7 separate regions of the Homo sapiens genome follow, and regions 1, 2, 3, 5, 6 and 7 are each linked to region 4. Evidence: promoter capture Hi-C in 16 types of primary human blood cells and fetal thymus (Javierre and others, 2016). All regions are on one chromosome and are shown on one strand. The core of a region is centred on a gene start or on the middle of the fragment in contact, and the rest is flanking DNA. Distances in the headings are between cores, read along the strand shown. Region 1 has its middle 10 kb from the start of CXCR1. Region 2 overlaps WNT6 (Wnt family member 6). Region 3 overlaps RUFY4 (RUN and FYVE domain containing 4). Region 4 holds the start of USP37 (ubiquitin specific peptidase 37). Region 5 has its middle 13 kb from the start of CXCR2. Region 6 has its middle 22 kb from the start of CXCR1. Region 7 holds the start of TRY-ATA1-1 (tRNA-Tyr (anticodon ATA) 1-1).

What was found. Contacts are between HindIII fragments. The CHiCAGO score rates a contact against its expected background, and 5 or more counts as called.
Region 1: a contact is called between a fragment that was not itself captured here and the fragment with the promoter of USP37 in region 4, in 1 of 17 cell types (neutrophils). The highest score is 7.7, in neutrophils.
Region 2: a fragment that was not itself captured here is called in contact with the fragment with the promoter of USP37 in region 4 in 2 of 17 cell types (total B cells and activated CD4 T cells); the score reaches 6.5 in total B cells.
Region 3: a fragment that was not itself captured here is called in contact with the fragment with the promoter of USP37 in region 4 in 1 of 17 cell types (neutrophils); the score reaches 5.6 in neutrophils.
Region 5: a contact is called between a fragment that was not itself captured here and the fragment with the promoter of USP37 in region 4, in 1 of 17 cell types (neutrophils). The highest score is 5.0, in neutrophils.
Region 6: a fragment that was not itself captured here is called in contact with the fragment with the promoter of USP37 in region 4 in 12 of 17 cell types (non-activated CD4 T cells, total B cells, neutrophils and 9 more); the score reaches 11.4 in non-activated CD4 T cells.
Region 7: a fragment that was not itself captured here is called in contact with the fragment with the promoter of USP37 in region 4 in 11 of 17 cell types (non-activated CD4 T cells, total B cells, naive CD4 T cells and 8 more); the score reaches 10.9 in non-activated CD4 T cells.

Annotation. Positions count from the first base shown.
Region 1 is chr2:218,154,932-218,158,200 of GRCh38, forward strand. No RefSeq gene overlaps it. Among named protein-coding and RNA genes, the nearest start is that of CXCR1, 10 kb to the right of the region's middle. The HindIII fragment of the contact is 2,941 bases long and covers 402-3,269 here.
Region 2 is chr2:218,871,971-218,875,149 of GRCh38, forward strand. It overlaps WNT6 (Wnt family member 6), which reads left to right. Exons shown (of 4, transcript NM_006522.4): 4 at 1,414-2,263. The coding sequence ends at 1,875. It also overlaps a transcript of WNT10A not described here. Among named protein-coding and RNA genes, the nearest start is that of WNT10A, 7.3 kb to the right of the region's middle. RefSeq lists an enhancer at 1-631. The HindIII fragment of the contact is 2,323 bases long and covers 192-2,514 here.
Region 3 is chr2:218,076,961-218,080,218 of GRCh38, forward strand. All of the region lies in intron 10 of RUFY4 (RUN and FYVE domain containing 4), which reads left to right. Among named protein-coding and RNA genes, the nearest start is that of RUFY4, 9.3 kb to the left of the region's middle. The HindIII fragment of the contact is 1,945 bases long and covers 490-2,434 here.
Region 4 is chr2:218,566,540-218,569,734 of GRCh38, forward strand. USP37 (ubiquitin specific peptidase 37) reads right to left here and starts at 1,812. Exons shown (of 26, transcript NM_020935.3): 1 at 1,639-1,812. It overlaps CNOT9 (CCR4-NOT transcription complex subunit 9), which reads left to right and starts at 2,300. Exons shown (of 8, transcript NM_005444.3): 1 at 2,300-2,439. The coding sequence starts at 2,416. RefSeq lists enhancers at 1,655-2,282, 2,283-2,910, 2,705-2,894 and silencers at 1,775-1,844, 1,935-1,994. The HindIII fragment of the contact is 2,574 bases long and covers 564-3,137 here.
Region 5 is chr2:218,137,546-218,140,754 of GRCh38, forward strand. No RefSeq gene overlaps it. Among named protein-coding and RNA genes, the nearest start is that of CXCR2, 13 kb to the left of the region's middle. The HindIII fragment of the contact is 2,972 bases long and covers 1-2,842 here.
Region 6 is chr2:218,187,555-218,190,690 of GRCh38, forward strand. No RefSeq gene overlaps it. Among named protein-coding and RNA genes, the nearest start is that of CXCR1, 22 kb to the left of the region's middle. The HindIII fragment of the contact is 6,006 bases long and covers 1-3,136 here.
Region 7 is chr2:218,243,175-218,246,537 of GRCh38, forward strand. It overlaps ARPC2 (actin related protein 2/3 complex subunit 2), which reads left to right. Exons shown (of 11, transcript NM_152862.3): 8 at 2,246-2,372. It overlaps TRY-ATA1-1 (tRNA-Tyr (anticodon ATA) 1-1), which reads left to right and starts at 2,652; the gene lies at 2,652-2,744. The HindIII fragment of the contact is 698 bases long and covers 1,057-1,754 here.

The DNA of each region.
Region 1 (3,269 bases), core at 622-3,121, 410 kb before region 4:
TGGAGAACAATTTCAAAACTCCATTCTCATCCCTGGCTTAATGACTGAAAGAATTCCCCCAACCCAGGGGCATTTGCTCTTTTTCTAAGAGGCCTGCCTAGGCCAAATAAAAGAATGGCTGACAGACCAGGGAGGGAAATATTGGATGGGGAGGTGGAAGAGAGGAGAAAGAGAAGGGGACAGAGAGAGGCCTTCTAGGAACTCCTCAGGTCAGACTTGGTCAGCAGCTGCCTGGAAAACACATACTAAGAACTGGCCTTCACAGGGCACCTAATTGTGGATAATCACGATCTGGGCAAAGATGGATGTTTCATGTCAAGTTCACTAGAGCTATAGTCCTGTTTGTCCATCGCAGTACACTCTTAGATTTCGAGCATCTCCCATTCTTAGAACTGGAAGGAAGCTTGCCTATTCAAACTTCATTTTATGGGAGCGGAAACCAAGGTTCTGAAAATTTAAGTGAAGATTCAAGTAACACAGCAACTAAGTCTGTCTTTTTGCTCTGTTTTATTTAATTAGAAACATTTTTCCAAATCTTCAGGTTCAGCTTGTGGTACACTAGGACCCCCAGATAGATCTCTTTGTTCCAGTGACCCTACAGGAAATTTCATAAACTCCTCACATACCCTCCATTCACACATTTCCTTTGTCCCCTTAGATTTTATTTCTTTAGTACATTACTTTGTTTGTTTGTTTGTTTGTTTGTTTGTTTGTTTGTTTGAAATAGAGTCTTGCTCTGTCACCCAGGCTGAAGTGCAGTGTCACAATCTTGGTTCACTGCAACCTCTGCCTCCTGGGTTCAAGCAATTCTCCTGTCTCAGCCTCCCAAGTAGCTGGGATTACAGGTGCCCACCGCCACACCCAGGTAATTTTTTTGTATTTTTAGTAGAGACCAGGTTTCACCATGTTGGCCAGGCTGGTCTCGAACTCCTGATCTCAGATGATCCGCCCACCTCAGCTCCCAAAGTGCTGAGATTCCAGGCATGAGCCACTGAGCCTGGCCCATTACTTTGTTTTAAGACCTAGCACGGAGTTGGATGCAAACAAGCATTTGTTACATAATCAGACAACTAGCGGATTCTCACTTAGGAACATGTGGGAATGTGCACAAAGACAGTACATGCTGAGTCTTGCCAGGGTCCCACTCAGAGGAGTGCTCAAGTATGCTGGCCAAGTGGGGAACCCTGCACTGCACAGCCCTGAGACCTGTACCTGCCTAGTCTCCCCACACCCCCAATACCTTTAAAGCTGGAGCAAAGTCACCTCTTTCAGGAAGACAGCCATGTTGTTTACAGTATGGGAACCAAGGGAGAGGTACGGATGTGGCCTCTTAGGTTTCAGTTGGGCAACACAATTCCTTCCCATGTCGGAAGTGACTAGATTTCTTCAGCGGTCCCTCCCCATTTACCTTCTAGATCTTACTTCTTCCATCCCCCTGATGCAAGCCTGGCTAAAAAAAAGGGGGTGATAGTTCTGGAATAACGTTGGGTCATTCATCCCCAAAACAGACATACATATGCACCCATGCATAAGCAACATGCACGTACACACTGTGGGTTACCTAGAAATCCCGTCAATGTATCCTCCTGGGGTACATAACATTTTCTGGAAGAAGGTTTTAACATAAGAAAGGGAAATAAAAAACAAGAAAAGGAACTTTGTTTTTCGTTTGATGTGCTATCTGAATTTCTGGTCATGATAATGGGCTGGCTGAAGAGGCATAGCAGCAAATCAGCAACACAAACATGCCCTCCATAGGCATCCTAAATAACTTTTTTTTTAATTTTTAAAAAGGCTGGGCGTGGTGGCTTATGCCTGTAATCCCAACACTTTGGGAGGCCGAGGCGGGCGGATCACCTGAGGTCAGGAGTTTGAGACCAGCCTGGCCAACATGACAAAACCCCGTCTCTACTAAAAATACCAAAATTAGCTGGCATGGTGGTGGGTGCCTGTAATCCCAGCTACTTAGGAGGCTGAGGCAGGAGAATTGCTTGAACCCGGGAGGGAGAGGTTGCAGTAAGCTGAGATCACGCCACTGCACTCCAGCCTGAGAAATAGAGTGAGACTCTGTCTCAAAAATAAATGAATGAATTAATTAATTTTTAAAAATAAATATCTGAGGTCAATAGCAGGCAAGAGAGAGAGAAAAAATCTCCAAGGGCCAGAAATGAAGAGGGAGCTTAAAAATGTATGGACTTATCAGGGAGTAGGATTAAAGCCAGAGGAACCCAGAAAGATACTAGAATTGATCATGTACCTTAAGGATGGGAATGATAATACCAGTGACCCTAAAGGCCCCATGTATAGCAGAAACTACAACTTGATTGCCTATAAAATTGTCAGGACCAAGAAAGAGCTGCCATGCCCTTGAATGGGGATAGAAAAGCACTTTGCAGCCTGAGACACAACCCCCAAGTGAGCTGCCTTCCTAGGTCATGAGAGAAAAGGGGCCAATTGAGGAACATTCCAGAATCCCAAGCCCTAGTATCAAGTGATGAGGACCCAAATCTGTCATTTGCAATGGTGTGGAAACTCAGGGCCAAGAAATATCAATAACAAAAAATGCTCTGAGCTATGTAACCCAGTAAGGCCCTAGCAGGTACAGCCATAAAGCCACCCCTGAATAGACTTCTTCATAATCCAGGGCACATGCAAGACTCCCATGAAACAAAAAAATGCCTTCAAAAGATGAATTAACAATAAAATGTTACAAAGAGCTGACAATCATCACAATCAACAGTCAGTCAACAGCAAATGGGAGAATTCACACCTGAGGAGCTAAAGATAATAAAGCAATTTGGATCTGACTTTAAAATAAGTATATTTTTTGCCACGCACAGTGACTCACACCTATAATCCCAACACTTCGAGAGGCAGAGGTGGGAGAATCACTTGAGGCCAGGGGATCAAGACCAGCCTGGGAAACATAGTGAGACTCCATCTCTCCAAAAAATATTTTAAACATTAGCCAGAGATGGTGTTGCGTGCCTGTAGTCCGAGCTACCTGGGGGCTAAGGAAGGAGGATTTTTTTTTTGAGACAAGGTCTCACTCTGTTGCCCAGGCTGGAAGGCAGTGGTGCAATCTTGGCTCACTGCAACCTCTGCCTCCCAGGATCAAACAATCCTCCCACCTTAGCCCCCAGAGTAGGTGCATTCCACCATGCCCAGCTAATTTTGTGCATGTGTGTATTTTTTTGTGGAGATGGGGTTTCACCATGTTGCCCGGGCTGGCCTTGAACTCCTTGACTCAAATGATCCTCCCGCCCTGG
Region 2 (3,179 bases), core at 103-2,602, 300 kb after region 4:
AAGCATGGATGGACATGTGGGAGGAGAGGTGTCCAGCCTCCAAGAAGGAGTCACGTGGGGGTCTGAGAAGGCCAGATGCTGGACGGTACAGCGGGCAGAATGGGGGAAGGGACACTCAGGGAATAGGACTGAGGGTCTTTAGTGACCCCAGGCAGAGAGGGCACAGCTTCAAGACAGGACAGGTGAAGCAAAGCTTGCAGTGGGTAGGAGGTCTGGATGCCTAGGCAGGGGCAGGAGAATAAAACAAAGGTGGGGATGAAAGACAGGATAGAAGCTAATGCAAGGTCTGGGGTTTTGGTACAGGGAAGCCAGGGGGAGTGAGAGAGGCCTAGAAAGAGTTAGAACAGGTCTGAGGGGCAATGGAAAAGAGCGAAGGACAAGGAACCAATCCTAGTGGAGGTTGGAGGGAGTCAGGTGGAGGCCAGGACAGCTGTGACCAATTCTGGGCATTTGCCAACTGGCTGCCCAGCAACACCAGCCCAGGTCTCACCTGCCCAGAGCCATGGCAGCCTCTCCTCTCCCCTCTGTAACGAGGAGAGCCCCAGGAGCTCTCATTCAGGGGCAAGAAGGTTGTCTGGGTGTGATGGTTCCAGGAGGGGGCAGGGCAGACTCAGGAGGTGGGAGTGGGACACATGGTCAGGTTAGCCCCTGGACTCTGAGCTTCCAGAAATGATTTTCTTGGGTCTTCTGAACCATCAGCGCTTGGTGGGTTTGGGAATCTTAGACCCTGCTTCAGACAGTGACTAGGGGAGAGGCCGCCTGGGTTCCACTCTCAGTACTGCATTCCCAGCGGGCCCTCCTGCACCCCATGCCTCCGTTCTAGCGTTCTCCAGGGACATCGCCATACATACCGTGTCCTCTAGGGTTCGGGCCTGAGGCATCGGGCAGGGGGAGGAGGGGGCCTGAAGAGGAATGTCCGGACAGGCCCACATACCTGCCGAGAGGGTTGGGGAGGGGTGACGGAGACAGATGCCCAGGAGGCTGGCTCTGCGTCTGTGCTCAGCCCGGCCTGGGGGCCGTGAGGGGTAGGAATGAGGGGGCCAGGTAGGCAGGAGAGCTAGACTTCGACAGCTGCCACCTCTCCCCTCCTCCAAAGAGAATCTCACCCCTGCTGTCCATTCTGCTTTCTCCCCCACCCCCTGCCTTTGGACCCTGGAATCTCTGCGCTGCATATTGTCCCCGTCTCCCCTCTTCGTCATCATCATATTCCTCCATCCTCACCATTCCTCCTGCTCCTCCCCTCCGAGTTGTCCTTTCCTTGATTTCCTCCCCCTGAACTTGCGGTCTCCTTTTGTCTGCATTTTCCTCTCTTCCTTTCACCTCCCATTCCCAATCTTATTTTCTGTCCATCCGCTGGGCCCTTCCCTGCACCCCCTACCTGTCCACATGCGTCCGCCCCTCTGCCTCCCGCAGGCCGTGCGGAGCCACACGCGCACCGAGTGCAAATGCCACGGGCTGTCGGGATCATGCGCGCTGCGCACCTGCTGGCAGAAGCTGCCTCCATTTCGCGAGGTGGGCGCGCGGCTGCTGGAGCGCTTCCACGGCGCCTCACGCGTCATGGGCACCAACGACGGCAAGGCCCTGCTGCCCGCCGTCCGCACGCTCAAGCCGCCGGGCCGAGCGGACCTCCTCTACGCCGCCGATTCGCCCGACTTCTGCGCCCCCAACCGACGCACCGGCTCCCCCGGCACGCGCGGTCGCGCCTGCAATAGCAGCGCCCCGGACCTCAGCGGCTGCGACCTGCTGTGCTGCGGCCGCGGGCACCGCCAGGAGAGCGTGCAGCTCGAAGAGAACTGCCTGTGCCGCTTCCACTGGTGCTGCGTAGTACAGTGCCACCGCTGCCGTGTGCGCAAGGAGCTCAGCCTCTGCCTGTGACCCGCCGCCCGGCCGCTAGACTGACTTCGCGCAGCGGTGGCTCGCACCTGTGGGACCTCAGGGCACCGGCACCGGGCGCCTCTCGCCGCTCGAGCCCAGCCTCTCCCTGCCAAAGCCCAACTCCCAGGGCTCTGGAAATGGTGAGGCGAGGGGCTTGAGAGGAACGCCCACCCACGAAGGCCCAGGGCGCCAGACGGCCCCGAAAAGGCGCTCGGGGAGCGTTTAAAGGACACTGTACAGGCCCTCCCTCCCCTTGGCCTCTAGGAGGAAACAGTTTTTTAGACTGGAAAAAAGCCAGTCTAAAGGCCTCTGGATACTGGGCTCCCCAGAACTGCTGGCCACAGGATGGTGGGTGAGGTTAGTATCAATAAAGATATTTAAACCACCAGGGCTGGACCCACAGTTTTGGGGGAGACTGATCTTCAGGCTGCCAGGCTCCAGAAGAAGGTGGTTTTGCTAGAACTAGCACCTCAGGGGCTATCACCTGGGTCCCTATCTCCCGACCAGGTTGGCCTCTCCTGGAAACTCGCTATCTCCCCTTGGCATTCTTCTTGTTCACTCCTGTCACACATCTAGGTCCTGGATCTGCAAGCTGGAGAAGAACTAGCAATTCCTCTTTAAAGGGACAGGGGCATCAGAAGCTTCTGATGCATACCTCTTGACACCCAACAATATTTCCTTCCTTCTGGTTCCTCTTGGGAAGCTACTGGTGAAAGTGAGGAGACAGAGGGCAGTTCTGGATTCTCCAGAGCTGAAGCTTGAGCTCTCATCTTCCTCCAGAGAGAAAGAGGGATGGCATAGCCCAACTTCCAGGACCCAGAGCCTCCAACTTTCCTCCAGTCCAAATACTGCAATGGGGAATGACTCCCCCATCAAGGTATGGAGGACAAAAAATGAGCTTTGGGGTCAGACACTCTGGGTTTGCAGTTGGTGCTGCTGCTTAGAACTTTACAACAGAGGCCAAATTAGCCTCATTTTCTTTATACAAAGGGATTTCGCTCTGTTTCAGTTATCCATTGCTACATAACAAACAACCCCAAAGTAATCACTTCTCAGGATTTTTGAGGTCATGATTGGTCAGAACTCAGCTTGGTAGGTCTGCTCTATATAGCAGAACCATTGGCTTGGGTTCACATGGCTGCATTCTGCTGGAGTCTCCACTGTGCTGTGCTGGACAGTCCAAGAAGCCCCCACTCACATGTCTAGGGCACAGAGCTTCTCTTGTGCTCTCATTCTCTCCATGTGGCTAACCTGGGCTTCCTCGCTGCATGTTAGCCTTAGGATAGTCAGACTTCTTACATAAG
Region 3 (3,258 bases), core at 212-2,711, 490 kb before region 4:
CTCTCACCCTCTCATAATCACAGCTATCATTTACTAAGCATTTACTACGTCCCAGGCACTGCTGTCGGTGCTTCTGCGTAACACCCTTATGAGATGAGTTCTATAGAACCCCCATTTTATAGAGGAGGAAGCTGAGGCTCAAAGATGCTGCACAATTCACCCACCATTGGCTAGTTAGCGGGGGAGCTGAGATTCAAGGCCTGCAGCTGACTCCAGAACCAGTGGGCTCAGACGCCCCATTCAGGCAGCATGTCGAGTGCCTGCACTTCAGTCTCTCCGTTTCTCCTGCTCAGTGTCTCTCACCATCCAGTGTCTTCATCTTCCGTCATCACATTGACCTCAGGGGCCCACAGCACGCTGTCTGTCTCTACCATCCCCCCTCAGTCCTCAGTCTCTCAGGTCTCAGTTTCTCTCTCTCTCTCTCTCTTTCTTTTTGTAGAGACGAGGTCTCACTACATGGTGCAGACTGGTCTCAAATTCCTAGGCTCAAGCTTCAGCCTTCCAAAGTGCTAGGGTTGCAGGCATGAGCCACCACACCCAGCCCATAATTTATTTTTTAAAGTCTCTTCTCACTGCAGAGATCTTCCGTGGCCTGACTCAGCCTCTCTGTGTCTCTCTCCTGTGGTCTCCGGGTACGTCAGTCTGCCCACCTGCCCCTGTCTCTCTCTCCCACATGGCTAACACCTGCCCCAGGTCCAACAGACACCAGTCGGACCCCAGCAGAGCCTGAGTAGCTGTGATTCAGCCTGAATCACTAGGAAGCCTTCTGGCTGTCTGCTTCGCAGGTGAGAGAGGCCCAGGAGCCCAGAAACCAACCCAAAAGGACCCCCAGGCTCCTCCCACTCCACACTCAGCTGAGCACACAGTGTGGTCGCAAAGGTTTCCACGATTCAGGGCAAAATGAACATGGGGGTTCTGGCCACACAAGAGTCTTCAAGGGTTCAAGACAGTCTGGGAGGAGCAGCTGGGAGGTTATAGAGAGATGGCCTGGCCCTGGCTGCTCCTTTTACTGGGGACCCTGTCTCACAGACCACAGTGCTCCGGCCACCTGTCACTCATCATTCAGTCATTCCACAAACACCCTGTGCACCCACTCTGAGCCAGGCCTGTCCTAGGTATGGGAAATCCTCTCACAGACAAAACAGGCCAAACGCCTGCCCTCATGGAGCTTGCATTCTAGTGGAGGAGGCAATAAAAGTGATTAGCAAGTAAAGTACCTAGGATATCAGATTGGAATAAGTTCTAAGAAGAAGACATAAAGCAGACAAGAGGAATGGGACATGTTGGTGTGGTATTTTACATTTTAATAAGGTAATATGGCCAGGGAAGACCTCCCTGTAAATGTGACATTGACCTAAAGACCTGAAGGAAGTGAAGATCAAGCCCTTTGACTATTCGGTAGAATGTTCCAGGCTGCGAGAACAGCAAAAACAAAGGCCCTGATGGAGGACGGGCAGGGCAGGTTCTAGGAACATCCAAGGAGGCCTTCCGGGCCCCAGTAGAGTGAGGGAGGGAGAGGATGTGGGAAAAGGTCAGGTGAGCCAAGGAGGCAGGTTAGGGAGAGCCTGCGAGGTCATCGGAAGTGCCTCGACTTTGACTCAGAGGAAGATGGGAGCCACTGAGAGCTCAGAGTAGGAGAGAGACTTGACTTTTTTTAATGTCAAAAAGATGTTTACATGCTTTTTCAAATGCTTAACAATTAAATGGTTTTTAGTATATTTAAGAGTTATACATCCACCACCTCAATCAATTTCAGAACATTTCCATCTCCCCAAAGAGAAACCCTGTACCCATTAGCAGCCACTCCTCATTCCTTTCCCAGCTCTAGGTAACACCAGTCCACTTTCTCTATAGATCAGCCTGTTAGAGGCTGGCATGTTTTTTGTTGTTGTTGGTTTTTTTGTTTTGTTTTGTTTTTGTTTTTGAGACAGAGTTTCGCTCTTGCTGCCCAGGCTGGAGTGCAGTGGCGACATCTCGGCTCACCGCAACCTCCGCCTCCTGGGTTCAAGTGATTCTCCTGCCTCAGCCTCCCGAGTAGCTGGGATTACAGACACCTGCCACCACGCCCAGCTAATTTTTTGTATTTTTAGTAGAGATGGGGTTTCATCATGTTGGCCAGGCTGGTCTCAAACTCCTGACCTCAGGTGATCCACCCACCTTAGCCTCCCAAAGTGTAGAGATTACAGGCATGAGCCACGGTGCCCGGCTTGATGTGCGTTTTAAAGGCCCCTTGGAGCTGGCCTGTTAGCAGGCAAGCTGAACACAGGGAGTCCAGCGAGGACCCTGCCATGCAGGGGAGAGTTGGGGTGCTCAGACTGGGCTGGCAGCATGGAGCAAGGAGAAGCTGCCGGGCTTTGGATGAAGTGTGAAGTAGAACTTCCTGAGGAATTGGATATGCTGTATGAAAGAAAGACAGAAGTTGAGAATGACTCTAAGCTTTTTGACCTGATCAGCTGGAAAGCTAGAGTCACCATTAACTGAAGTGTGTGGGCTGTGGCAGGGCAGATTTGTAGGGAAAGTTCAGAGCTTGGTTTTGAACACGTTACGTTTGAGATACCTGTTAGACATGTCAGACGGGAGCCGCTGGGCAAGCAGTTAAGTGTGGAACTCAGGAGGGAAGTGTGCGCTGGGAGATCGATCCTGGAGTCCTCAGAGTAAGGATGGTGAGTAACAGCTGACCCTGAGGCTCAGAAGAGGATGTGCTACCCTGATGCCTGGGAGCCAGGGAGCTAAGGACAAAGCTCACTCCCGGGAAAGGAGCCCGTGGGCATCAAGCTGGTGATGAGTTCCTCAACACAGAGAATAGAAGTGCCGAGGGACCCATTCATTCCATGGACATTTAGTATGCTTCTACAATGGCCATGAGCAGGTGTGGTGAACAAACTTGGCCCAGCCTGCTCTAGAAGACCTGGGACAGATAAACAGATAGCAATCCAATGGCCATTGGATGGATGCTAGGGAAAAAAACAAAGGCAGGGAAGGGCGCGGAGAAAGACAGGATAGTCATTCAGACTGGGGTCCAGAAAGTCCTCTCTGAGGTGACATTTGAGCAGAAGCCCCAACCACATGAAAGACTGGACCATGCAAATATCTAGTGAGAAGTGCTGTGGCCAGGGGAATGTCCGGAAGACATGCGTTTGTTGACAGGCAGGCCAGATGCATACGGGGTGTGGCTGAGCAGAGGAGAGAGCGGCAGAGCCGGAGCCAGGGGCCTCAAAGGCAGAGTGAGGCACCGGAATTCTCTGTGCTACCAGAGGC
Region 4 (3,195 bases), core at 562-3,061:
CAGAAGAAAATAATGTAACCAGATAGAAGAGTATTGAGTTGATCAGCTTATAACAATAACAATTAATGCTTACTGGCCATTTACTCTGTGCCAAGTGCTTATCATGGTTATCTCACTTAATCCTCATAACAATCCAATAGGCTGAAAATTACTATTTCCATTTTACAGATGATAATACAGGAAGCCAAGGCAATCAAGTCCAGGTTTTTTAAGGACTGTGGCTTAAACTAGAAAAGTGACAGTGAAAATGTACAGAAAAAGATGCAAGACACGTATTGGAAGTAGGATAGAACTTGGAGAGAGTAGAAGTCAAGAATGCCTCCCAAGTGTGTAGCCTGTGTCATGTGCCACTTAATAAACTGGGACACTGGAGAAGAAAGAATTTCGATATGGAGAGAAAGATCAAGGCTTTGGATTTGGCTGTGTTGCATCTGAAACTCCTAAGAAAAAAATCAAGTTGAGATGTCAAGCAGACAGCTGGCTATCTAGATGTGGAGCTGAAAACAAAGGGAATAGGCTGGAAATAACAATTTTTAAGTCATCAATATATAGATCAAATTTAAAGCTTAGGGAGGAATATAAGAGTAAAAGAAGAGGACCTAGGACTGAACCCAAATACTCATTTTACTTCATCAAACATCTTTAAGACAAGTGAGTACTTTTATATCACTGGGTTTTTCAGTCCTCCTTCCATTTTACCTTTCAGCAGAATGCAACACTACTGATGACTTTTTTCATGGCTTGCAAGACGCATCCTCCTCTATTGGTTATTAAACAGCAGGAATTCGTCAATGCTCCATCCTAGGTGCCTTTATTTTACAGCACTATACTCTTTTTCGGCAATTTCATCCACATCCATGGCTTCAATTACTATCAATATGGCAGATGACAAACACATACACACACCGCGCACATTTACGTACGCAGCCCAGAACTCTCCTAAGATCTCCAAACCCACTATATCCAACTGCCTACTTGACATTCCCTCTCAGGTATCTCTTCCAGTTAGACACTTGTCAGGAATTGCCACCTCAATAAAGGAATTTATACAGAGCTGAAATTTTGAGAGGAATACCCCAAAACCACTTTAGGACAACTCTTCAGGACACAGGATTTTATCATCAATCATCATTTCCTTTCATGGATCATGACTTAAAATAGTTACATCTAACAACCTGATCTGGCGGCTAGAAATGGGCGCAAGGAAATGCACAACAAAAATACAATTCATGTTTTGCAGTGAGGACTGGTCAAGAGGAAGGTGAAGATGGTCAAGAGAGTGAATGAGTATCATGTCCAAGGCCTGGTGGATGTGCCGTAACGAAAGTCACCTGAAGAGACAGCAGGCCCTGTTAGAAGGTAAGAGGCGAACGACAACAGCCCCAGAGAAAAGGGGCCAGGTTTGAGTTTCGGAGGGAGCGAGTGGCAGTGGAGACCAAGTCAAAGGAGAGGTGGAAGCCGGGGCAGTGCACCCAAAGGTAGTACCTGTGAGGCTGGGGGTGCATCGAGGGGTTGTGGGCGGGCTGAGTAGCAGCAGGGCGAACTCCAGAGGAGTGAACGCCGAGTGGGCGGATCGCACAGAAGGAGGAGGAGGTAGGGAAAACGGCTCAATTGAGAAGCTACCCCGGCCCGCCTTACCTGCGCCGAGGGTCCGGAGCCCCCGGACAGACCCGCGGAAAGCACGGAGCCCGCGAGGAGTGGGAGGAGCCGAGGGTAATGGAAGTAGGGATACCGAACCCAAAGGAGGGAGGCCGCTAGCTACCCCTAGTCAGGGAGAGCGGCTGATGGCGGGAACTGTGACCACACGCAAACACGCACGCACGCACGCACACTCGACGCGACCAGACAGGCGCGTGCGCGTCAGTCGAAAACTCCGCCCCTCACACGCCCTCGCCCCGCCCCGCCAGTACCTAGAGCGGCCTAGCCCGGGCAGCCCCGCCCCTGCCGTGACTGTAGTAGGCACGCGCACTTTCCACCTCACCCGATTTCGACGCCCCCCCACCATTTCCCTCCTACGCAACCCAGTCGGGCATGCGCAATAGTTGTCTTGCCGGGACTGTCCATCTTTTCCCGCCGTTCACTGGCTTTTGGAGGAGGGTCAGAGTTCACGCCGCTCTCTGGAAATAACTGCTCAAAGCCAGAAGTTGCGGGGACTAGTGGTCGCGGACGTCCTTCCGGTCCTAAATCTTAAGGGGCAAAGGACATACTCTGGGACTGTTAACTAGGCCCTGGAGGCGGGAAGAGGATGTGTGGGTGGGGTCAGGGGTGAGAGGTCAGAGGGCCGCGAAGTGGGCGGAGCGAGCCGGAGTCGGATGGCGGCTACGGCGGCTCATTGTTTTCCGCTGCAGGGGTGCTGAAGGGGGGACGCGGGTCGGACGCGTCCGGCTGTGGAAGAGAGCGGCGGCCGCTCACAACATGCACAGCCTGGCGACGGCTGCGGTGAGTGGCTGGGCCCCCAGGCTTGGAACCAGAATCCTTTCTCAGACCCACGTTTCGGCCTTCTCTCCTAATTCCCGGTGTCGGGTCCCTAGTCTGATTTTTTTCTGCCCTCAATCTCCAAGGCCCCGGTTCCCCTCCTCGGCACGCTTTGGTTGTGGTGGAGCCGGCCCCTATTTCCTTGCCGGACGCCTCTCGCGGCCTTCAGCGCGACCCATCGCGTTCTTTGCGGGCGCCGGGGCCTGGTCCCACGCCCGTAGCAGGCCATTCATTGATTTATTGCGCTGACCAACAGTTTCAGGGCGCCAGTTGTGTTCTGGGCGCCGGCGTCGATGAGGGGAATTCCATGGTCAATCTGACGCGGCCCCTGCTCTTAGAACTCACCACGTCGCAGCGGGAAGGAAATGGCTTCTAGTTCAAACCACTTGCTTTATTTATGGAAAACCTGAGGCCCGGAAAAGTGCATAATTTTTGCATCTGACTTAGGTTCTCTGCATTTAAAACTTTTCCTCGACACATCTCGTTTTACCCGCGTGATCTTTTAACAAAAAAGAAAGATAGTGTAATTCAGCTATCCGAAGTAATCCTACTTCTCTTGGCATTTAAATAAAATCTAGACTCCTTGCCATAGCCTGCACGGCCCTGTATGATGTGGTACTTAACCCACGTTTATAATCTCGTTTTATGTCTCTTGCTCCTAAAGCTTCAGCTACTCTGGCCACCTAACCCTCTGCAACGCGCTTATTTTTCTCCAAGATG
Region 5 (3,209 bases), core at 107-2,606, 430 kb before region 4:
GTTGAGTAAGTTTACCAAATCCCCCTGATCAGGTAGCAGGAAGGCAGAGAGCTCTCCCAGCTCAACCAGCAGCACCCACTGTGAGTGCCCTATCCTCTTCCCTCTCTTCCACCCAAACACACACCCATCATTCCAGGTTTGACAGGACAGCCCAAATGCAGAATGGGGAAGTGGTTTATAATCTGTCATTAGGAGAAAACAAAAGATTCGAATCATGCCTCCAACAGCATGGAGTGCTGACTGTTCGGAGAGTGGGGGGATACAGCAGAGACCACGACAGACAGTGCCTTGCCCTGGGGGAGCTCACATTCCTAGGGCTTGTCTCTGCAGGGTCTTTGTCAAGAGGGGCTCTGGGTCTGAGCAGCCTGAGAAGGAAGGAAGGAGGCAAGAGGAACTGAACGTCCGCAGTTCCCAAACAACCCCCTTCAGGTTAACAACTAAATCTAGGGGAAAACAGGGAGGCAGGAGCACACCTCTGAGTGGGAGGGCTTGAGGGGCAGAGAACTTCCACTCAAAAGCCACAGAAGTGCCTTTCCTATTGCATTCAGCAACAACAATCCCTTCTTTCCTGCTCATTCTATGCTGGGTACTTGCTAAACTCGGGACCAAGCACGACTCAACTGCTCTGGCTGAGTCTTCGGAACAGCTTCTGATTCAGTAGCAGGGAAATGCAGGGGAACGTGTATTTACCAAGGACCTGACTTGCCAGAGGAACCAATGGTGCTCTGCCTGGACAAGGCTGATGGACCAGGTGGCTCCCTGAGATGACTCCCAGAGGGAAGAGGCCAAATTACACCTCACTCTGGTTTCAGGACTCTGCTCTTTCCTCTCACAAGGACTGGAGGAAACATGGTTCTCCAAGGATAATAAAAGGATACCATCAGCCTAGGAAAATGAGGCAGAGATTAAATTATGCTTACGTGAACTCTGTTATTCATCTCTATCTCCTCTCTCTCTCTCTCTCTCTCTCTCTCTCTCTCTGTCTCTCTCTCTCTCTTTCAGACTCTCTCTCATAAGAACAGTCTTGGCACAAATAATTTACCAAACACGCCATCCCTAGGACAGGCGAGTCTGGGGATTGCCTTTGAGTTGTTGACTTCTTTCTTCCCTCTGATGTTTCTGATCCTGAGTCCCAAGGTCTCAGGGTCCAGCACCTTTCTGCCTGATCTGCCTTCTCGGTCTGTCAAAGAGGCCTGAAGTCCCCATTTCCATACATAAACGAGGAAACTGAGGCTTTACCAAAGCAACCTGGCCAAAATCTCATGGCTAGACAGTAGTGGAGCTGAAATAAGATTCCTAGTCAGTTCGTTTTTTACCAAATATTTCGCTTTTCGGTTCGAGCACCTGACAGACAAGATGGAAAATTACATGTAGACATGACCTTTTCAGACCATTTCACTCACACGGGTAAGACCAGTCTACATTTTCTGCACCTGCACTCATCTGTGCCTGGAGCTGGGGTTGCTGGAGTCTCAGTCAGCGAGGCCCAGAGGAGGCTCAGGGGCACAGGTGTGGGAGCAGCCTCAGGCTGGGTTCTCCTATTCTTGGCTGGCAGGCAGCACAGTTAAAGACACAATCGTGGCCAGGCACAGTTGGTCACACCTGTAATCCCAGCACTTTGGGAGGCCAAGGAGAGCAGATCACCTGAGGTCAGGAGTTTGAGACCAACCTGGCCAACATGGTGAAACTCAGTCTCTAATTAAAAACACAAAAATTAGTTAGGTGTGGTGGTGGGCACCTGTAATCCCAGCTACATGGAAGGCTGAGGCAGGAGAATCACTTGAACCTGGGAGGCGGAGGTTGCAGTGAGCCGAGATCATGCCATTGCACTCCAGCATGGGCAACAAGAGTGAAACTCCGTCTCATAAATAAATAAATAAAGACGCAATCAGAGCCCAAAACAAAATTCAGAGACAGGCACAACTAACCCCTCTACAGAGGACACATATCTTATCAGGCAGGGGCCAATTAAAGAAGCAAAACCACTGGGAGGAGGAATTTGTGACAGGCATTTGACCCTAGGCAACTGTGGGAGCTGGCTAAACCATTAGTGTCAGGCTGTTGGCTTTGTTTCTTGGCTGGGATCTTAAGCTGGTAGGATGGACAGCCTGGAAGGAAAGATGGATGTAAAGTGGGAATAGTGAGGAGGAGCTGGAACCTACCAGGACAGGCTGATACCTGCGTTGGTCCAAGTTCAGTATGTGAATGGCCTGTGGAGAAGCTGGCACCTGCACCAAGCAGGTAAACCCACACCTGAGGGGCTGCAGGCCAGCTCAGGCCCCATGCCTACAGGAGCCGGCAGATAAGTGACATCATATGGTGGTGTCTGGTGCCTTCCACTGACCTTCCTGAGCTGAAACAGAATGTAGATGCTGCTCCACTTCCACCTTCCAGATCTCACATACAAGGTCCCTTCTGGCCCCTCACTGACCTGGAAATGTGAAAGGAAGAGAATTTGGGGAAATACAGTTCTATCCTATCTATGCTGACTCAATACAAATCCTCTGCACAAACTTATGTGCGAACTCTAAAGAAAAAGAACGGTTCCCACAAAGGTTCAGGTGATATTTATTAAAGGGTCGGGAAAGGGAGGAACACATGGGGGCTTTAGGGGGCACTGATAATGTCCTCTCTCTTATCCTATGTGATAGATGCTTAAGAGCCATTATATTATTATTTTTTAAGCTATAAATGTTAGTTTTCTGTAATCTGTGCTATGTATGCTATTCACAAGAAAAGTGTTTTTAATCATTAAAATGAAGGGAAAAAATACAGAAACAGTGATCAGAACAAAAGGACAACCTGGGTCATTTCAAGGAACCACCACAGGGAGTGGACTGCAAGCTTTTGTGTTGTATAGTTTGGGGATCAGAATTCACCAGACTAGAAGATATTATCATCCACTGCCAGTAGGAGAGGAATTAGGAACGATCCTTCAAGAAGGCAATTTTGTGATATATACTTTAATGCATACAATCTCCAATCCAGGAATTATACACTGCTACAAATCTATCCTATAGAAATACACATCTAGGCGGACAAACGTGTACAGGATATTCATCACAGCATTTTTTATAAAAGTCAAAGCTCAGAAACAACCTAAATATCCATCAGTGGGGAATTGGTTAGAAACACTTTGAAGGTGCAGCCACACTGTGGAATACTGTGAATGCAGTGGTTTGAACATGATGTTTAAAACATGCAAAGTA
Region 6 (3,136 bases), core at 285-2,784, 380 kb before region 4:
AAAAATAAACCTCACAAATGGTGACCAGGGGGCTGGAGGGTGGAGGGGTTCTAGATGGAAACTGGGCAGATGGGAGACAGGTGGGAAGAAGACTCCTTGTGAATAGCTTTTAATTTTTTTTTTTTTGAAACATGTGACATAGTTCCCATTACATATTTTCAATGTTTAAAAAATAATTTTAAAATGTTAAACAGTCATAATTCAACCATGGTGGCAGGAGGTCTGTGGTGCAGCTGAGAAACTGCTCTAAGCTCTGGCATGTGCAGTTGTATGTCTTCTGGCTGCTCTGTCTCAATTTCCACCCACAGAGCCAAGGAAGCCTCCAGCCAATTCCAGGGAGCATCTTTCTGGGCCCTGGGTTTAGAGACCTGTGATTCTCTTTATTCCCTCTGCTCCAGATTCTCCAAATCAGCTCACTTTGGGCTCTCTTGGCCCTGTGTCTTTCCTGTCACTGGTTTGTCAACTGCCTCCACTCAGTGCCTCCCCTTAGCCCTTCCTGTCCTTACGGTTTCTAAATGCAATTCTAATAGCTTCACAAATGTGCTCCTCCACTTTCCTAGGCACCAAGGAAACCTTGACCCACAGGCTTTAATTTTACCCTTGCAGTGAATTCTTATTGACTTTCACTGACCACTGGAACCCACCTACTTGCCCTGAGAACACTCCCATTATCTTTCAATTAAAATAAGACCCTTGATTTATACTTTAATATACATATATCCAGGCTGGGCACAGTGGCTCACCCCTGTAATTCCAGCACTTTAGGAGGTCGAGGCAGGAGGATCGTTTAAGCCCAGGCATTCAAGACCAGCCTGGGCAACACAGTGGAACCTCATACCTCTACAAAGCAATTTTCAAAATTAGCCAGGTGTGGTGGAACACACCTGTGGTCCCAGCTACTCAGGAGGCTGAGGTGGGAGGATTGCTCAAGCCCAGGAGGTCAAGGATGCAATGAGCCATGATCACACCACTGCACTCCAGCCTGGGCAACAGACCAAAACCTTGTCTCAAAAAATAATTTTATATACATATATATACACACATGTATCCAGACTCCTGCTGAAACTACCTCTCCCTGTTCCAATGCCACACATCTAGTTCAGCCTGCAGATGAGTTTCTTTGACTGCCTGGGATTGGTTTCCTTGTTTGTTTAAATTAGAATTGGTTTCTGACTTTTAAACCTTGAGGCTTTTTCACATTTAAAAACATCTGGATTTATACACTCTCCTTTAAAATTTTGAAGATCTGGGCTGGGCGCCATGGCTCATGCCTGTAATCCCAGCTCTTTGGGAGGCCAAGGCGGGTGGATCACCTGAGGTCAGGAGTTCAAGAAGAGCCTGGCCAACATGGTGAAACCCTGTCTCCACTAAAAATATGAAAATTTGCTGGACATGGTGGCATGCACCTGTAATCCCAGCTACTCAGGAGGCTGAGGCGGGAGAATCACTTGAACCCGGGAGGTAGAGGTTGCAGTGAGCCGAGATCATACCATTGCACTCCAGCCTGGGAGACAAAAGCAAAACTCCATCTTAAAAAAAAAAAAAAAAAAAAAAAAAATTGAAGATTTGACAACACTGAGCTCATGGCAAAACTCAGCTAAACCTAGAATGTAAAAGAAATCCTAGAAATAGAGCCACACTTACACCATCACTTGATTTTCAACAGAAGTTCCAAAGCAATCCAGTGAGGGAAAGGAAGGTTTTATCAACAATGTGGGCCAGACACAGTGGCTCACGCCTGTAATCCACGCACTTTGGGAGGCCAAGGCAGGTGGATCACTTGAGGCCAGGAGTTTGAGACCAGCCTGGGCAGCCTGGCGAAACCCCATCTCTACAAAAAATGCAAAAATTAGCCAGGCGTGCTGATATGCACCTATAGTCCCAACTACTCAAGAGGCTGAGGTGGGAGAATTGTTTGAGCCTCGTAGGCAGAGGTTGCAGTGAGCTGAGACCCAGCCTGGGTGAAAGTGAGATTCTATCTGAAAAGAAAAAAAAGAAAGAAAAAGAAAAGAAATCTCATTACACAATCAAACATCACATCACCAGAATGACTAAAAATACAAAAGCATGATAATATCGACTATTAGTGGGTTGTAGTATAGCTGGAATCCTCACATATAATTAGTGGGAATGTAAAATGGTGCAAACACTTTGGTAAAAGGTCTGGCAGTTTCTTCTACTTTCTGACCCAGCAATCCCACTCCTAGGAATATGCCCAAGAGAAATGAAAATAATATGTTCACAAAAATATCAATAGCTTTATTGATAATTGCCAAAAACTAGAAACAGTCCAGGTGTCCATCAATAGGAGAATGGCTAAACATACAGTGGAATAGTCATACAATGGAGTCATTCTCATCAATAAAAAGGACTGAATTACTGATATACTCCACAACATGATGTATCTTAAAAACATTACACTGAGTAAAAGAAGCCTTCCACTTCTATGAAGTTCTAGAACAGGTGAAACTAATCTGAAAATAATCAGAGCAGAAGTTACCTCTGGGAGGATGGAGGCAGAGACAAACCAGCCATGGGGGGACATGAGAGGATTTTTAGGAATGATGGTAATGTTTTCTATATTGATGGGCATTGGGATTACACAGGGGCACCTATTAGTTGAAACTTAGTGAATATACACTTAAGATTTGTGCACTTCATTGTCTACAAATTTTACATCAAAAGAAAACACTAAAGGCCAGGTGCAGTGGCTCACGCCTGTAATCCTAGCACTTTAGGAGGCCAAGGTAGGAGGATCACTTGAGGTCAGGAGTTTGAGACCAGCCTGGCCAACATGGTGAAGCCCCGTCTCTACTAAAAATACAAAAATTAGCAGGGCATGGTGGCGCATGCCTGTAATCCCAGCTACTTGGGAGGCTGAGGCAGGAGAATCACTTGAATTTGGGAGGCGGAGGTTGCAGTGAGCCAAGATCGCACCACTGCACTCCAGTGTGGGCAACAGAGACTCCGTCTCAAAAAAAAAAAAAAAACTATAAACAAATATTGATCTCTAATCAATGATGTACACACTGATGTATTTAGGGAGAAGTATACTGGTGTCCACAGTTACTTTGAAACACATCCAAAAGAATAGATTAATGGCTATAGGGATGGATAATGGATAAATATGAGATAA
Region 7 (3,363 bases), core at 156-2,655, 320 kb before region 4:
CAGTGGTCCCAGTGGCAATTATTTCCTTTTTTACACCCCTGATTTAAGATGCTACTTTTATCATATGCTAAATGCCTTGTATATATTTGGATTTATTCCGAACTTCCTATGATAAATAGTACTTTGGAAGAGAGAAATAATCTGATGCTCAAAAGACATCCTAGCCAGAAGGAGAGTAAAAAGGCAATATTGCTTGATTACGTATAACAAAGATGCCAATGAAGATGGAGGGCTGTTTGGGTGTGTTTGTTTGTTTAAGCTTTATTTAGGAGAGAGAACTGAGGAGAAGCAAAGACATCAGAGAATCTAAAGAATAGTCCCAGTCAGGCACAGTGGCTCACGCCTGTAATCCCAGCACTTTGCGGGGCCTAGGCAGGTGGATCACTAGAGGCCAGTTTGAGACCAGCCTGGCCAACATGGTGAAACCCTGTTTCTACTTTAAAGGCCAAAAATTAGCCGGGAATGATGGCACACGCCTGTAATCTCAGCTACTCGTGAGGCTGACACATGAAAATCACTTGAACCTAGGAGGTGGAGGTTGCAGTGAGCCAAGATCACGCCACTGCACTCCAGCCTGGGTGACAGAGTGAGACCCTGTCTCAAAAAAGAAAGAAAGAATAGGCCCAAGCCAGAAACGTATCGTTGACCGAGCCTTAAATATGTTATTTTCCATATACAAAACTAATGAGTGCTAATAAGTCACCACTGGTTTATAAATACCCCATCTCATTGTGAATACCACATGTACCTGTGAATTAGAGCCTTGGAGACACTTAACAGACACAAGAAAATGCCAACAGTTACGTATCTGTTCTGTTTAATTCCTTAATACCGAAAAGTAAAACCAGTAAAAGTTAAAAAGCTTCTTAACCCCTTTGTAGAATAAAAAATGTTTTCTAGAGAAGGGCGATTTTAGAAGCTTTGCTCTAGAAATTTCCATTTGGGATAATCTTGACTCCTTCCCTTCCTTTTTGGATATTTTTCCTTCGGGGAACAAAATCTGTTCAAAAGGGGACTAATCTAACCCAGTTGATGGTCATTTCTTTTCCTACTTAAAGCTTGGTAGTGTTAGCATGAGAGGCAGTTTGTGAAATAGGTGAGGTCCCAGGCTGGGCATTGGGGCTCCTCAGCCATCATCTTTCTTTTGCCACTAATTGTCGAGAGGGCTTGCTAATCAGTGTTTATTCTTCCTGCCTGCAACTGGAAACAGCCCTTGCCTATTCCTGTACAGTGTGATGATACTAAACCAGCTAGGGTAGAAGCACTTGCTTTCTCTCAGCAAGGCATGTGCTGCATAGCCTCTTTGAAAGACAGAAGAATAAATTACAAAGATAAATTAAGCAGGATCTTTGATTTGAACTCATAACCTGGTAGGGGAGCCAGATACATTAATGAATGGTAAAATATCATAGTAGAGGTTTGTAGAAAAGACATGGCAGCTCCAGCAAGAGAGCAGTACCTGCCTGGGTTTGTTGGAGATGGTATTAGGAGGCAGTATTTGAGCAGCAGTAGAAGGGCACGCAGGCCACATGGCTGTGTAACCATGCCTTCAGAACTCCTAAAACAAGAGACCTTGGAGAGTCCTTGGCAGCATCCTCCTGCTGTCTATCATCTTGGAAGGCCCACTTGATGAATTTGGATTATCCAGTTTTACTGGCATTGCTAGAAAATCTACTTCTGTTCTTGCAGATCTGGCTGAGAGAGAGAAGCCTTGTATTACTTGTCTATTTACATAGGAATGTATGGACTGTAGAAGCTTCAGGTTTGGAGATTGGAACATAGAAGGAAGGGCTTCCTTTATGAGCACCAAGACAACTCAGCTTCTTTCATTCCATTGTCTTCTGTCCGCAAGAAGAGCTTAAGTTTGCTCTAAAGATTTTATTGATGAATTCTAAATAGCAACAGGATCCTCAGTGAAAAAAGACTCATGCAAAGTCCCAGAGCCCAGAGAAAGTATGGTAGTTTATCACCTATGTTAGTGCAAAGGAAAAGGATTATCACTACTTTTCATCACATTTTGAAGATCTGACTTATTAAGTACTTTGCAGTCTCTCCCGTTTGAATCTGAAGTGTAGTGGTAGCAGCTAGCACTTGTCATATTTCAGGTTTGGTGTAGTTTATTTTTAACCTCCTGCTGGTCTGGAGGGCTACAAAGGTCACACCACATAGAACAAACCCTATAGCTTGAGTTGCCACTCATCTTACACCCACTTCTCTTCTGGTTGCTTTTGCTTTGTCTTGGCAGGAGTTCAAAGAAGGACGCAGAGCCAGCCACACAGCCCCACAGGTCCTCTTTAGCCACAGGGAACCTCCTCTGGAGCTGAAAGACACAGACGCCGCTGTGGGTGACAACATTGGCTACATTACCTTTGGTGAGCAGGGTGCACTTGCTGCTTTTGTGCCGCTTTAATGAGTTCACACAGCAGAATACCTAAATCTGCACAGAACCTTGGTTAACATTTTAAGGTAGGCAAACGCAGGCATACCAACTTGTTCCTGTTGCCATTGCAGTGACTAAAGGAGGGATGTCACAGGGTATTAATTACAGAGCAGGCCATATGCTATTTTTGTACAGTAATCCTTTCCTTTTTTTCCCCATTTTTCTTAAATCTTAAAAATAAGACTGAATTCTGATATCAAGAGTTAAGGTCCCTTCAATAGTTCAGCTGGTAGAGCAGAGGACTATAGCTACTTCCTCAGTAGGAGACGTCCTTAGGTTGCTGGTTCGATTCCAGCTTGAAGGAGACAAGTACAGTTTTGGCTGGGCACGGTGGTTCATGGCTGTAATCACAGCACTTTGGGAGGTTAAGGCAGGTGGATCACGAGGTCAGGAGATCAAGATCATCCTGGCCAATGTGGTGAAACTCTGTCTCTACTAAAATACAAAAAAAAATTAGCTGGGCATGGTGGCGCACGTCTGTAGTCCCAGGTACTCCAGAGGCTGAGGCAGGAGAATTGCTTGAACCCGGGAGGTGGAGGTTGTAATGAGCTGAGATCGTGCCACTGGACTCCAGCCTGGGCAACAGAACAAGACTCTTGTCTCCAAAAAAAAAAAAAAAGAGTTGAGGCTGGGTGCGGTGTCTCACGCCTGTAATCCTAGCACTGTGGGAGGCCAACATGGGCAGATCACCTGAGGTCAGGAGTTCGAGACCAGCCTGACCAACATGGTGAAACACTCCGTCTCTACCAAAAAAATAACAAAGAAATTAGCTGGGCGTGGTGGTGTGCGCCTGTAATCCCAGCTACTCGGGAGGCTGAGGCACAAGAATCCCTTGGACCCAGGAGGCGGAGGTTGCAGTGAGCTGAGATCACACCATTGCACTCCAGCCTGGATGACAGAGTGAGACCTTGTCTCAAAAAGAA